Linked DNA regions of Homo sapiens: all the other regions are linked to region 4. Evidence: promoter capture Hi-C in 16 types of primary human blood cells and fetal thymus (Javierre and others, 2016). All regions are on one chromosome and are shown on one strand. Each heading gives the region's core, a stretch centred on a gene start or on the middle of the fragment in contact. The rest is flanking DNA. Distances are from core to core; before and after follow the strand shown. Region 1 has its middle 25 kb from the start of TTC39B. Region 2 overlaps PSIP1 (PC4 and SRSF1 interacting protein 1). Region 3 has its middle 3.8 kb from the start of TTC39B. Region 4 holds the start of SNAPC3 (small nuclear RNA activating complex polypeptide 3).

Region 1 (2,700 bases), core at 61-2,560, 91 kb before region 4:
CAACTGATTTATTTAAAAAATAAAAATAAAAAACAATACTATTCAGAGGCTCTAAAAGAATCCAACTCAAACTCCGGTGTGTTAAAAGCTATCTTCCTACCTACTGCACCTTACCTCTTTACAATCTATTTAATCTCTTTTTAAGCTTTGTTAGATGGGAATGAGAAAATTAGCACATCTTTCTGGAAAACACTGTAGCAAAAAGTAACAAGAGTTTAAAATTGTTTGTACCTTTTATCCTTCCTGGGACAAGAGGACACCTTTACAAATTCACTTCTTGCTTTTAGGTAAGTAAAGGAAGGGCAGAGAACTTTTCTTGTATCTGCTTCCTCTCAGTTGCCTTCAGCTCAAAATAATCTTCATGCCAAAGTGGCATATTTTGGGTTTGCATATTCTGCTACTCTTAAGTTTTTAATCATAGCACTATTTTTCATTTGTAAAATTGCATATTACCTACGAGACAGGGAAAGATTTAAAAGTTTCATAAAATGCTATGTTGGAAAGGCTTATTGTTGATATTGAGTTGTTGTTGTTGTTGTTGTTGTTGTTTTTGAGACAGGGTCTCACTCTGTCAACCAGACTGGAGTGCAGTGGCATGAACACAGCTCAGTGCAGCCTCAATCTCCTGGGCTAAAGTGATCGTCCCACCTCAGCCTCCCATATAGCTGGGACCACAGACATGCGCCATTACACCTGGCTAAGTTTTTAAATTTTTTCTAGAGATGGGGTCTTGCCCACACCAGTCTTGAACCCCTAGACTCAAGCAATCCTCCCATCTCAGCCTCCCCAAGTGCTGGGATTACAGGTGTGAGCCACTCTGCCCGACCGATACTGAGCTTTTCATTGCAACAATTCTAATGAGGGCAATTTAGCAATAATCAACCAGAATTACAAATTTCCTGCAATTCCACATCTGGGAACTTATCCTACAGATATACTCACATATATGTGAAACTACCTATGTGCAAGGTTACTCATTGCAGTGATATTTTTAACAACGCAAATTTGGGAACTACTGAAACCATCCATCAGTGAGGGATTGGTGGCCAGGTGTGGTAGTTTGTGCCTGTAATCCCAGCACTTTGGGAAGCCAAGACTGATGGATGGCTTGAGTTCAGGAATTCAAGACCAGCCTGGGCAACATGGTGAAACCCCATCTCTACAAACAAAGTACAAAAATTAGCTGGGCATGGTGGTGCATGCCTGTAATCCCAGCTACTTGAGAGGCTGAGGTGGGAGGCTCGCTTGAGCCTGGGAGGTGGAGGTTGTGGTGAGCCGAGATCAGCCACTGCACTCCAACCTGGGTGACAGCATGAGACCACATCTCAAAAAAAAATAAAAGAATTGTTGATACTATAAAACAATGGAGTATTATTATTCAGCCTTAAAAAATAAAAATAAAAATGCCAGGTGCAGTGGCTCACGCCCATAATCCCAACACTTTGGGAGGCTGAGGTGGGCAAATCGCCTGAGCTCTGGAGTTCGCGACCAGCCTGAGCAACATAGTGAGACCACCGTCTCTACAAAAAATACAAAAAAAAATTAGCCAGGCATGGTGGTGCATGCCTGTAGTCCCAGCTACTCGGGAGGCTGAGGCATGAGAATCGCTTGAACCCAGGAGGCGGAGATTGCAGAGAGCCAAGATGGCACCACTGCACTCCAGCCTGGGGGACAGAGCGAGACTCCATCTCAAAAAAAAAAAAAAATTAAAATTAAAAAATAATAAAAATAAGGATTCTCCTTAAGTACTAACATTGAATCATTGCCAAGATATATAAAGTAAAATAGGCAAGGCACAGAACAGTATTAATTGTTCCCTATTATTCTTTCTCCCTTCTTCCAAAAGTTTTAGCCAGACACATGACCATCAGGAGTAGACTACATTTTCCAGTGTCCCTTGCAGCTAAGAGTGGCTATGTGATTGAAGTCTCCTCAGTGAGATATGAGCAAAACTATTATGTGGCAGCTTCCAGGTCCCTTCCTTAGACAGAGGTATTATGTGGCCTTTGTTTCTCCATTGGACACATTCTTCATTGGATACACTCCATCCTGCTCCCGGGAAAGTAGTTCTCTCATCTTGGTTCATGATTGAACTGGAAGAAAACCAAGTCCCTTTTGGAGCTCACACACATCACAACTCTGGACCACTCTTGGAATTTCGCATGACAGTGATATAACCATCTTTTTTAAACCATTATTATTTGGGGTTTCAGTTATTTGAAGCTGAACCCAGACCTATCTCTTACACAAGTATAAATTTTGCAAGACTTATATCTGGCTAAATTGCCTGCAGAAAGATTGTGTCAATTTGTGCTGCAATAAGTGCTGTATAAATGTGTACAGAGCTTTTTTTTGCCACACTGTGCCATCTCCTGGATACCAGATGCCAACTGCTCGCTGGATCTAGAGACAGGTAAAAAGAATCTACAAATGTGACCTGGATGCCAGGACAGGCAGAGGCACCAGTACCAGCAAGAAGCTTCAGAAATAGAGTAGTTATTAAAATGACCATTTGCAGTGAGAAAATAAATCACTACAAACTACCAACTACCAGAGGCTAGGAGATTCAGGTCCCTTACTTGTGACATCTCTTTAGGCAATTTATCATAAATGCTTTTATATGGATGCATCCTGCTTACAATCTGGCTTCCCCTTCCGCTTAGGTCACCCTTTAACTCTCTGTAAGTCCCAGCACCCACA
Region 2 (2,700 bases), core at 12-2,511, 73 kb after region 4:
TTTTCAAAGTAATATTATTATGCTAGGATTAAGGCAAACCAATAATTTACCAAATTTACTTTGGAGTTAAACTGAAATCATCTCATTCCATCAAAAACTGAAGATTTTACTAGACATCATTAATTCCTGTCCATAATCTCAAATTAGAAAAATTAACACATTTAGCTCTAACAGTATAACATTCCTCTTATGTAACAGGTTTCAAATTCCAAGTAAATGACTTGAGTTAAACCTCCATGAAAACGTATTTCTGGTCAGAACAAACCCAATTCAACACAAATTCTCCCTCCTGAAAAACCAGAAAAACAACAGTAAAGAGATTATTTTAAAAGTATAAACTCTTAAAACCAAACAAGGCAAAAATAAAATTTGGAAGCTAAAAAGACAACTAAAGAAGTTGAATCTTAAGCACCCTCATTTACAATTTAAAATCCCCAAAGGGCTCAAAATTGGGGTGACCAGGAACTTCAGGAGTAGGAAAAGACCTCAAAAATAATTACAGGAAAATGTTTTAAAACCTCAAATATTTATTTTTTTTTAAAGATATGGCTCTAAGTCTAAAAGCCACAGAAGACTGATCTACCACAAAGTTACTGTATAAAAGATAAATTTTTTTACATGAATCATTTTTCTTAACCTCAAAAAAAGCAGTTCTTAAAAAGGACCATGCAAGGCAATCTTAATAATCAATGGGAAAAGTTACGATTGTTCTGTGACCTTTAAAATTTGTCAGAATATTAAGTAGTCTATTACTGACGGTTATGTAAATGCATAAGGAAATGAAATAGTAAAACCAATACCAACTTAGTATGCTGTAACTTAAAACATTAGGAACACTGATATTAAAGTGTATCATTTCTTTGTATTAAAAAAAATCTATCAAGAATAGTTTGAACAGTGCTTGCCTTCTTCTAGTGATATTTATTATGATATGGAATGCGTCTATCTTCTATGCCTTGGCAAACTGTCATACTCCTAAGTTTAGATCACATTCCAATATTTTATCCTTCATGCTTTCAATGATGTGAAATATCCTCAATGTTTTTTGTTGGTATCACTTCTATTAATAGGATATCTTCATATTTTCCATTACAACTACCTTTTTCATTTATGTTGATAAGCTTGCCTTCACTAAGTTTCTCTGGCTGGACAATTAGTGTCTCTCCAACTGCAAACCATCTATATTCACAAGGTAAGCTATTTATTCTATTATTCCATTTATGTTAAATTCAAATTTCCCATCTAGCATTAGGATTTTTGCTGCACTATCATCTTTGTTGACCAATTTCCTTGTTTATTTTGGTAAACTGTCACATGGGGACATCATTAGGAGACAGAGGCCAACTATACATCCGACTGTGCATGATTTTGAGAAACCAATGCATGGTGACCAATCACCAAGAAGCTTTAAAAGTGACATTATATGCACCTGTCATTTACATCTTAATTTGTAGGTTGAAAGACTAGCAGCAAATGTTGTAGTTTATACAATTAGTTAATATGGCAGGGTAGGTGAAATTTTAACCATGTTGTTAGTGGACTGTTACTTAGCTAAGTCATGGCAATTGAAATTTGTGCCTACAGGAACTATGTAAAGCTAAGGACTGCCTATATATACCCTTCTCTCTTCAAGCTTTGAGTTTAAATTCCACTTTTAACAGACAGCAGTATTGCCATTCCTGCTTTCTTTGTGACATTGTATCATTGCTTGCTCTTGTTTTGTTTGAGCTTTGTCTCACAAAATAAGACATAGCAAAGTGGTTTATTAAAACAGAAAGTCTTAACAGAACTATATTCATTCATAAAATGTAATGTTTACATTTAGTTTTATTCACACCACCTCATTTTACGTGTACCTTTTCACTACAATTGTTTTTTATTCTTAACTTTGCTAAGTAGGTTTTTAAAAAAATTCACCCCTTGCTCCTACTCCCAGATTCAGATTTACAAGTTGTACCTTTCATTATTAACCATAATGGTTCAACTGATGTCATACATAAATTCACGTATCTTAATATACCAAAAATTAAATAACTATGTTCTTCCAACTGAAAAGACTTTTACAAATGTAAATTCATGTTAAGTACAGAAGATTTTTAAATTCGCACACTTTTTTTTAGTTCACATAATTCAACATCATTAAGTTATCCAGGAAATGTAAATCAAAAATCACAATATACTACCGTCACTCCCACTCAGACGGCCAAAAAATAACAAATAATAACAAGTGTTGGCAAGGATGTGGAGAAATTGGAACCCTCCTACAATTGCTGGTGGGAATGTTAAACGGTGCAGCTGATTTGGCAAGTCTGAGAGTTTTCTCAAAACGTTAAACGTGAAATTACATCTGACCCAGGAATTTTCTCCTAGAGAAATGAAAACTTATGTTCACAAAAAAACTTGGACACAAATGTTCACAGCATTATTCATAAAAGCCAAAAGTAAAAATAACTCAAATGTCTATCAAGTGATGAATAAATATGGTAAATCAATATAATGGAATATGTGACAATAAAAAGTAGAGTAGTAATGTACTATCACATCCAGGCTAGAGCATGGATGAATCTTGAAAAACATCATCCTAAGTGAGAAAAGCCAGCCACTGAAGACCACACGTTCTATGATTCCTTTTTTTTTTTTTTTTGAGACAGAGTCTTGCTCTGTCACTCAGGCTGGAGTGCAATGGTGCTATCTTGGCTC
Region 3 (2,700 bases), core at 86-2,585, 110 kb before region 4:
TCTACTCTGTATTACTCATGCATGGTTCTGTTTTTCAAAGTTCATTGGTTCCTGAATTGATAGCACATCCTTTTGACATGAAGCCATCTCACTGGTAGCTTCTTCTCCCATATGCTGTTATTCTGCCTTTGGAATTTCAACTCTTCAAATTTTGAAGAGATCCAAACAAACTTCGCTCTAATTAGTGACAGAATTATGTTATAATGAAAATCGAGTACAATTTTTCAAAAATCTATACTTATAATTGAAGCTTGATTGGTGTTTTTGTTGTTGAATTTTTTACATATCAGGGATCAAACCTGAAGTCTCGTATGTTTTAAATTCACGGCAGGAGATAAGCAACATTCATGTTTCAATTATAAACACTGAATGAATAAATGTATTCTAGCCACTGGAACGTCTAATCAAATTTGCTTTGCTCAGGGCAGCTGTCAGCTTTGCCTATACAAGAGTGATTTTATCGTGAATCACAAATATAAAAGTTTTTCTTCAAAGAACAATTAGAATGGATTTGTTTTTACACAGAATTCCCCTTGCAAGTTTGCTGATAATGTTATACTCTAGCAGTCAAGTGAGATTACTCAGATATTCCATATCCCAGAAGTAATTAGCATAGAGATCAAGCAAGAGGGTATCTGAATCATTTCATTTTGAAGCCACACCTACTGGGAGCTGTTTGTGTTTCAAAATAAATCTAATATTGTAAACAATCTAATCTTCAGTATTCCTGAACATGTTACCTTTAGCTGATAGTTTTTTGCTGGTACTTGATTTAAGTGAAAATTGAATCTTCATGATTTGTGTGGTAGGAGAAGCTCAAATCCATGAAATAAGTGCTCATTGTAAATCATGTGTTTGTCAGTGACTTTGTCTCACATTCGTGTCTTAGCTCTTCAAGGAAGACGTCCCCTTCTAAAGCAGTCCCTCCCTCTCAGTCACACTCTACCACATCCTCCTGCTGTATGTATAGCACTGTTCACTACCTGGAACTTTCTCGTTCACTTGTTTACTGGTTTATGAGTATGTCCTTCAACAATGGCACCTCACACACACTATAATACAAGCTCCATGAGGGAAGGAACTTTGTGTTTTGTGTCTACAGCAAAAACCCGAATGCCCAACACATAATGACTACTTAATAAATGGCTATTGAGTGAATGAATGAAAGTATAAAAAGTTCATAGTACATTAAGCATTATTGTTTAGACCTAGCAGCCAATGTTTTAGCATAATCCAGTAATAATGAGGGAGATTTAAAGAATGCAAATCACGTGTAGTCTAAAATGTAAATTGTTTCCTAGGGTAATGTAACAGGCATGAAGATTATCTTTAATGCCTACTCAGTTTTTCAAAGTTACATAAGAGCTAAGCACTTAGAGGTCCCTCAGTGACCTAAGAAGAATAATTCACCTCCCTGGGAGAGGTTGCGATGCTAAGGGGAAAAACCTCATCATTTAGTGGAAGCTGAAATCTTCCCTTCAGAATATCCTTTTTCCAGGCACTTGGGGCTGGGTAAACATTTATTTTGCCCCACCTATTAGTTGTTTGTTAACTTTTTTGATATATATATATATATATATATATATATATATATATACACACACACACACACACATATATATATACACGCACACACATATATATACACACACATCAAAATATATATTATATATATATATAATCTTTCCAATTGCCTTCCTGTTGATTTTCATATCTCTTTAAATTTGATTAATATCGTTTTTTCAGACAAAGAAAGTAAAACCCAAAGAAGAGAGCAACAACATGAAGAGTAACTTTGGCTATATGCAATCTCAGGGCAGAGTGTCAAAGATTTAAAAACCAGACCAAGCAGGCATGGAGGTACACCAGTAGTCCCAGCTACTCTGGAGGCTAAGGCATGAGGAGGATAACTTGAGTCTAAGAGTTTGAGTCCAGCCTGGGCAACATATCAAGACCCTCATCTGAAAGGAAGAAAGAAAGAGAGAAGGGGAGGAAGAAAGAGAGAAAGAGAGAGGAGATAGAGAAAAGAAAGAAGAGAGAAAGAGAGAGACAGAAACAAAAGAAAAGCAATATCAATAAAAATAAACAGGTAATTGGCAGCTTGTTGCCACCTGCTGTTCATTCTCCCATAGCTCCATCCATAGGAGCAACTGCCTAGCTGAAAGACTACATTTCTCAGGACTCCTTTGCAATTAGGAATGGCCAGTGTAACTAAATTCTGGCCAATGAAATTCATTTGACATCCGGGAAGGCTATTTGAAGGAAAATGACTCAACTAGGGCATGGGCCCTTTTGCCATTATTCCAGTGAACATATGAATAATAAGAAAGCAAAACAGCCTTATTGCTGATATTAAGAAAGTTGCAGTAGTCTGATCTAACCAGCCACAACATTCTCTTAACCCAAAGCCTAATCCAGAGCAAAGCTTTAACTCTTCAATTCCATGAAGGCTGAGAGAGGTGAGAAGGCTGTAGAAGAAAAGTTGCAAGCTAGCAGAGATTGGTTCATGATGTTTAAGGAAAGAAGCCATCTCCAAAACATAAAAGTACAAGGTGAGGCAGTGAGTATTGATGAAGAAGCTGCAGCAAGTTATCCAAAAGATCTAGCTCAGATCATTGATGAAGTTGGCTACACTAAACAAAAGATTTTCAATGTAGACAAAACAGCCTTCTATTGGAAGAAGATGCCACATAGAATTTT
Region 4 (2,700 bases), core at 96-2,595:
TATGCGTGCCCATCTGAGGCTTTCTTCCCTTTTCCGATAGAGTCCCCCTGAAAGGTCATACTCCCCGATTTTGTCTCTTAATGCATATGCCCAGGAAGTTGCTTCTCCCTGTCACCTGCATTCAACGAGCACTTTAGTGCAACAGGTGTGGGCCATCAGGAAATGGCCTCTCCCTGGCACCGGCTGCCAATTTATCACTTTTAGAGGCAATGTGATAAATGCCTAAGCATCACCCCACATTCCTAGTGGGTGAGGGAAGAGCCCTCTCCTGCCCTGCTCATGCCTAACTACCTGTAACAAACCTTGTAAACATTAAGCCAGCCACCAAAAGACCATATAATTCCGTTTATATTAAATGTCCAGATTAGTTAAATCTAGAGAGACAAAGTAGGTTCTTGGTTGGCTAGGGCTGGAGGAGTTGGGAGGATCAGGGGTGATAGCTAAAAAGTACAAGTTTCTTCTTTCGAGTGGTAAAAATGCTCTCAAATAGTGGTGATGGTTGCCCAAGCCTGTGAATATACCAAAAATCACTGAACACTTCAAATGGGTGAATTATATGGCATGTGATTACAGTCTAATAAATAAATAGTATGTCCTGCTGTATCCTTCAGGGCCTCTGAGAAATGGAGAGAGCTCCATCTGAAGCCAGACTGAGTTCCGATCCTGCTTCTATTTTCCCCGCAGGTAAATCCTTCCTCAACAGCAACACGGGGTGATACGCCCTATCCGGAAAGGTTGTTGTAATTTTTAAAAACATTAAAAACATACATTAGGGTTAATCATGTAGCGTGTGATACACAGACGCTCTGAAACACTACTGCACACGCACACCAACATGGGGCCTCTGCGGAGCTTGTGAAAGAACCAGATCTGGAGGGCTGGTCGTGTCCCTGGTCTCGGCCCTCGCCCTCCTTGTTTCTTAGGCTCTAAAGCAATCAGGCAGCAGAGCAGTCCTTGAACCCCAGTCAAGAAAAAGCCCTGCACCCCTTAGTCCGAAAGCCGCAAGGAACGGGGCCTAAGCGCCTGGCGAGGCCGCCCTACCGGGCAGAGACAGTTGCTACGTAACTCGGGGACCAGAAACCCAGCCCCACCCGCTGCGGTTAACCGACAGCCGCAACGGTTCCCGCACCGCCCGGGTCGGAGAACAATGCTGCGCCCTGCACGTAGAGCCTCGCGGTGCCGCGCCCTGGGGCGGGCCTGCCCATGGCCTGCCGGGAAATGTAGTTTCTGATGCCCTGCCCGCGCCGCCTCGCCGCTCGCCGGCCGGGCGCCCCAAGCAACTACAACTTCCATCACGCTCTGCGAGGCCTTGATCTGCAGGCTTTTGCAGGGGAAGGAGTGGGGCGAACATGGCTGAAGGAAGCCGAGGTGGCCCTACGTGTAGCGGGGTGGGTGGCAGGCAGGACCCAGTCTCCGGCAGTGGCGGCTGCAACTTTCCAGAGTATGAGCTTCCCGAGCTAAATACGCGCGCTTTCCATGTGGGCGCCTTTGGGGAGCTGTGGCGGGGCCGTCTGCGCGGGGCCGGGGACTTGTCGCTGAGGGAGCCGCCGGCATCCGCTCTGCCTGGGAGCCAGGCAGCTGACTCCGACCGGGAGGATGCCGCGGTGGCCAGGGATCTGGACTGCAGCCTGGAGGCGGCGGCTGAGCTGAGGGCGGTGTGCGGGTGAGTGCGGAGCAAAGGGGCTCTTGCAGCTTGGGGTCAAACAGGGTGCAGCCTTGCTCGTGCGCTCCTCTGGGACTCATCCCTGAGAAGGGCCTGTGGTTTAGACCTGGGCTAGGAGTATTACCCTTTAAAGCTTTCAACCCGCTGGAGCCTTCCTGGGACACCAGGAGAAGTCCTGGGACCCGAATGCACAGTTTCTACGAGTTGGAGCAAAGGGACAAGACAGCTGCATCAAAGACTAGTTTTTCCATTTGCTTATTCTAAGAGTGCTTGTTAATAAAGAAAAGCAATCAGGGCAACAGCGACGTGTACCTGCCATTGACAGACACTTTGACAATGGAGGAACCTGAGTAATGGTGAAGCTGCGGGAGACTTCATCAGAGGAGTGTTAAAACCCCGACTAACTGGTTTCTTTTGGGGACCTTCCGGGTATTCTGTTACTGAAATATTTCTTAAAAGTGCCTTATTTGGGGATGAAAATATAAAAATAACTTTAATCTCTTTCTCCATTTAACAGTACTGGCTGCCTTCATCGGCCTTTTCATTATAAAATATAATCACAGAAATCGTTGTCTTAAGTTCTGGCCTCTCTGAGCCGCCTGCTGGATTTTATCTGACTTCGTAATTCAGTAATGTATTTAGGAAAACAACCCTAACTCGCTGTGAACCAGATGCAGAGTCGACCTTAAAGTATTGCTTTTCCTTTTTGTTTTAGCCTTGATAAACTGAAATGCCTTGAGGACGGTGAGGATCCAGAAGTCATTCCGGAGAATACTGACCTGGTGACTTTGGGGTATGGAGGACTTGGTTTTTATGACCTATTTATTTAAACATTTTTTCAACATTATGTTTTGAAAAGTTGAAAGTGCAGTATTGATTGTTGTCTGTATACCCACCCCTTAAATTCAGCTGTTCTTAATATTTGACCATATTTACTTTAGCCGTGTGTATGGGATGCCTGCTGTGTGTTTTTTCATTTTGCTATCCCCCATTCAGTAAGTTAGACATGATAATTTACCCGTAAATACATAAGCATA

What was found. Contacts are between HindIII fragments. The CHiCAGO score rates a contact against its expected background, and 5 or more counts as called.
Region 1: a fragment that was not itself captured here is called in contact with the fragment with the promoter of SNAPC3 in region 4 in 2 of 17 cell types (M1 macrophages and naive B cells); the score reaches 5.4 in M1 macrophages.
Region 2: a fragment that was not itself captured here is called in contact with the fragment with the promoter of SNAPC3 in region 4 in 7 of 17 cell types (total CD8 T cells, non-activated CD4 T cells, total B cells and 4 more); the score reaches 7.6 in total CD8 T cells.
Region 3: a contact is called between a fragment that was not itself captured here and the fragment with the promoter of SNAPC3 in region 4, in 13 of 17 cell types (activated CD4 T cells, total CD8 T cells, naive CD4 T cells and 10 more). The highest score is 16.6, in activated CD4 T cells.

The regions. Positions count from the first base shown.
Region 1 is chr9:15,330,804-15,333,503 of GRCh38, forward strand. No RefSeq gene overlaps it. Among named protein-coding and RNA genes, the nearest start is that of TTC39B, 25 kb to the left of the region's middle. The HindIII fragment of the contact is 2,334 bases long and covers 144-2,477 here.
Region 2 is chr9:15,494,698-15,497,397 of GRCh38, forward strand. All of the region lies in intron 3 of PSIP1 (PC4 and SRSF1 interacting protein 1), which reads right to left. Among named protein-coding and RNA genes, the nearest start is that of PSIP1, 15 kb to the right of the region's middle. The HindIII fragment of the contact is 284 bases long and covers 1,120-1,403 here.
Region 3 is chr9:15,309,711-15,312,410 of GRCh38, forward strand. No RefSeq gene overlaps it. Among named protein-coding and RNA genes, the nearest start is that of TTC39B, 3.8 kb to the left of the region's middle. The HindIII fragment of the contact is 2,175 bases long and covers 249-2,423 here.
Region 4 is chr9:15,421,531-15,424,230 of GRCh38, forward strand. It overlaps SNAPC3 (small nuclear RNA activating complex polypeptide 3), which reads left to right and starts at 1,346. Exons shown (of 9, transcript NM_001039697.2): 1 at 1,346-1,663; 2 at 2,379-2,456. The coding sequence starts at 1,350. RefSeq lists a silencer at 1,073-1,362 and an enhancer at 1,703-1,822. The HindIII fragment of the contact is 2,004 bases long and covers 1-1,794 here.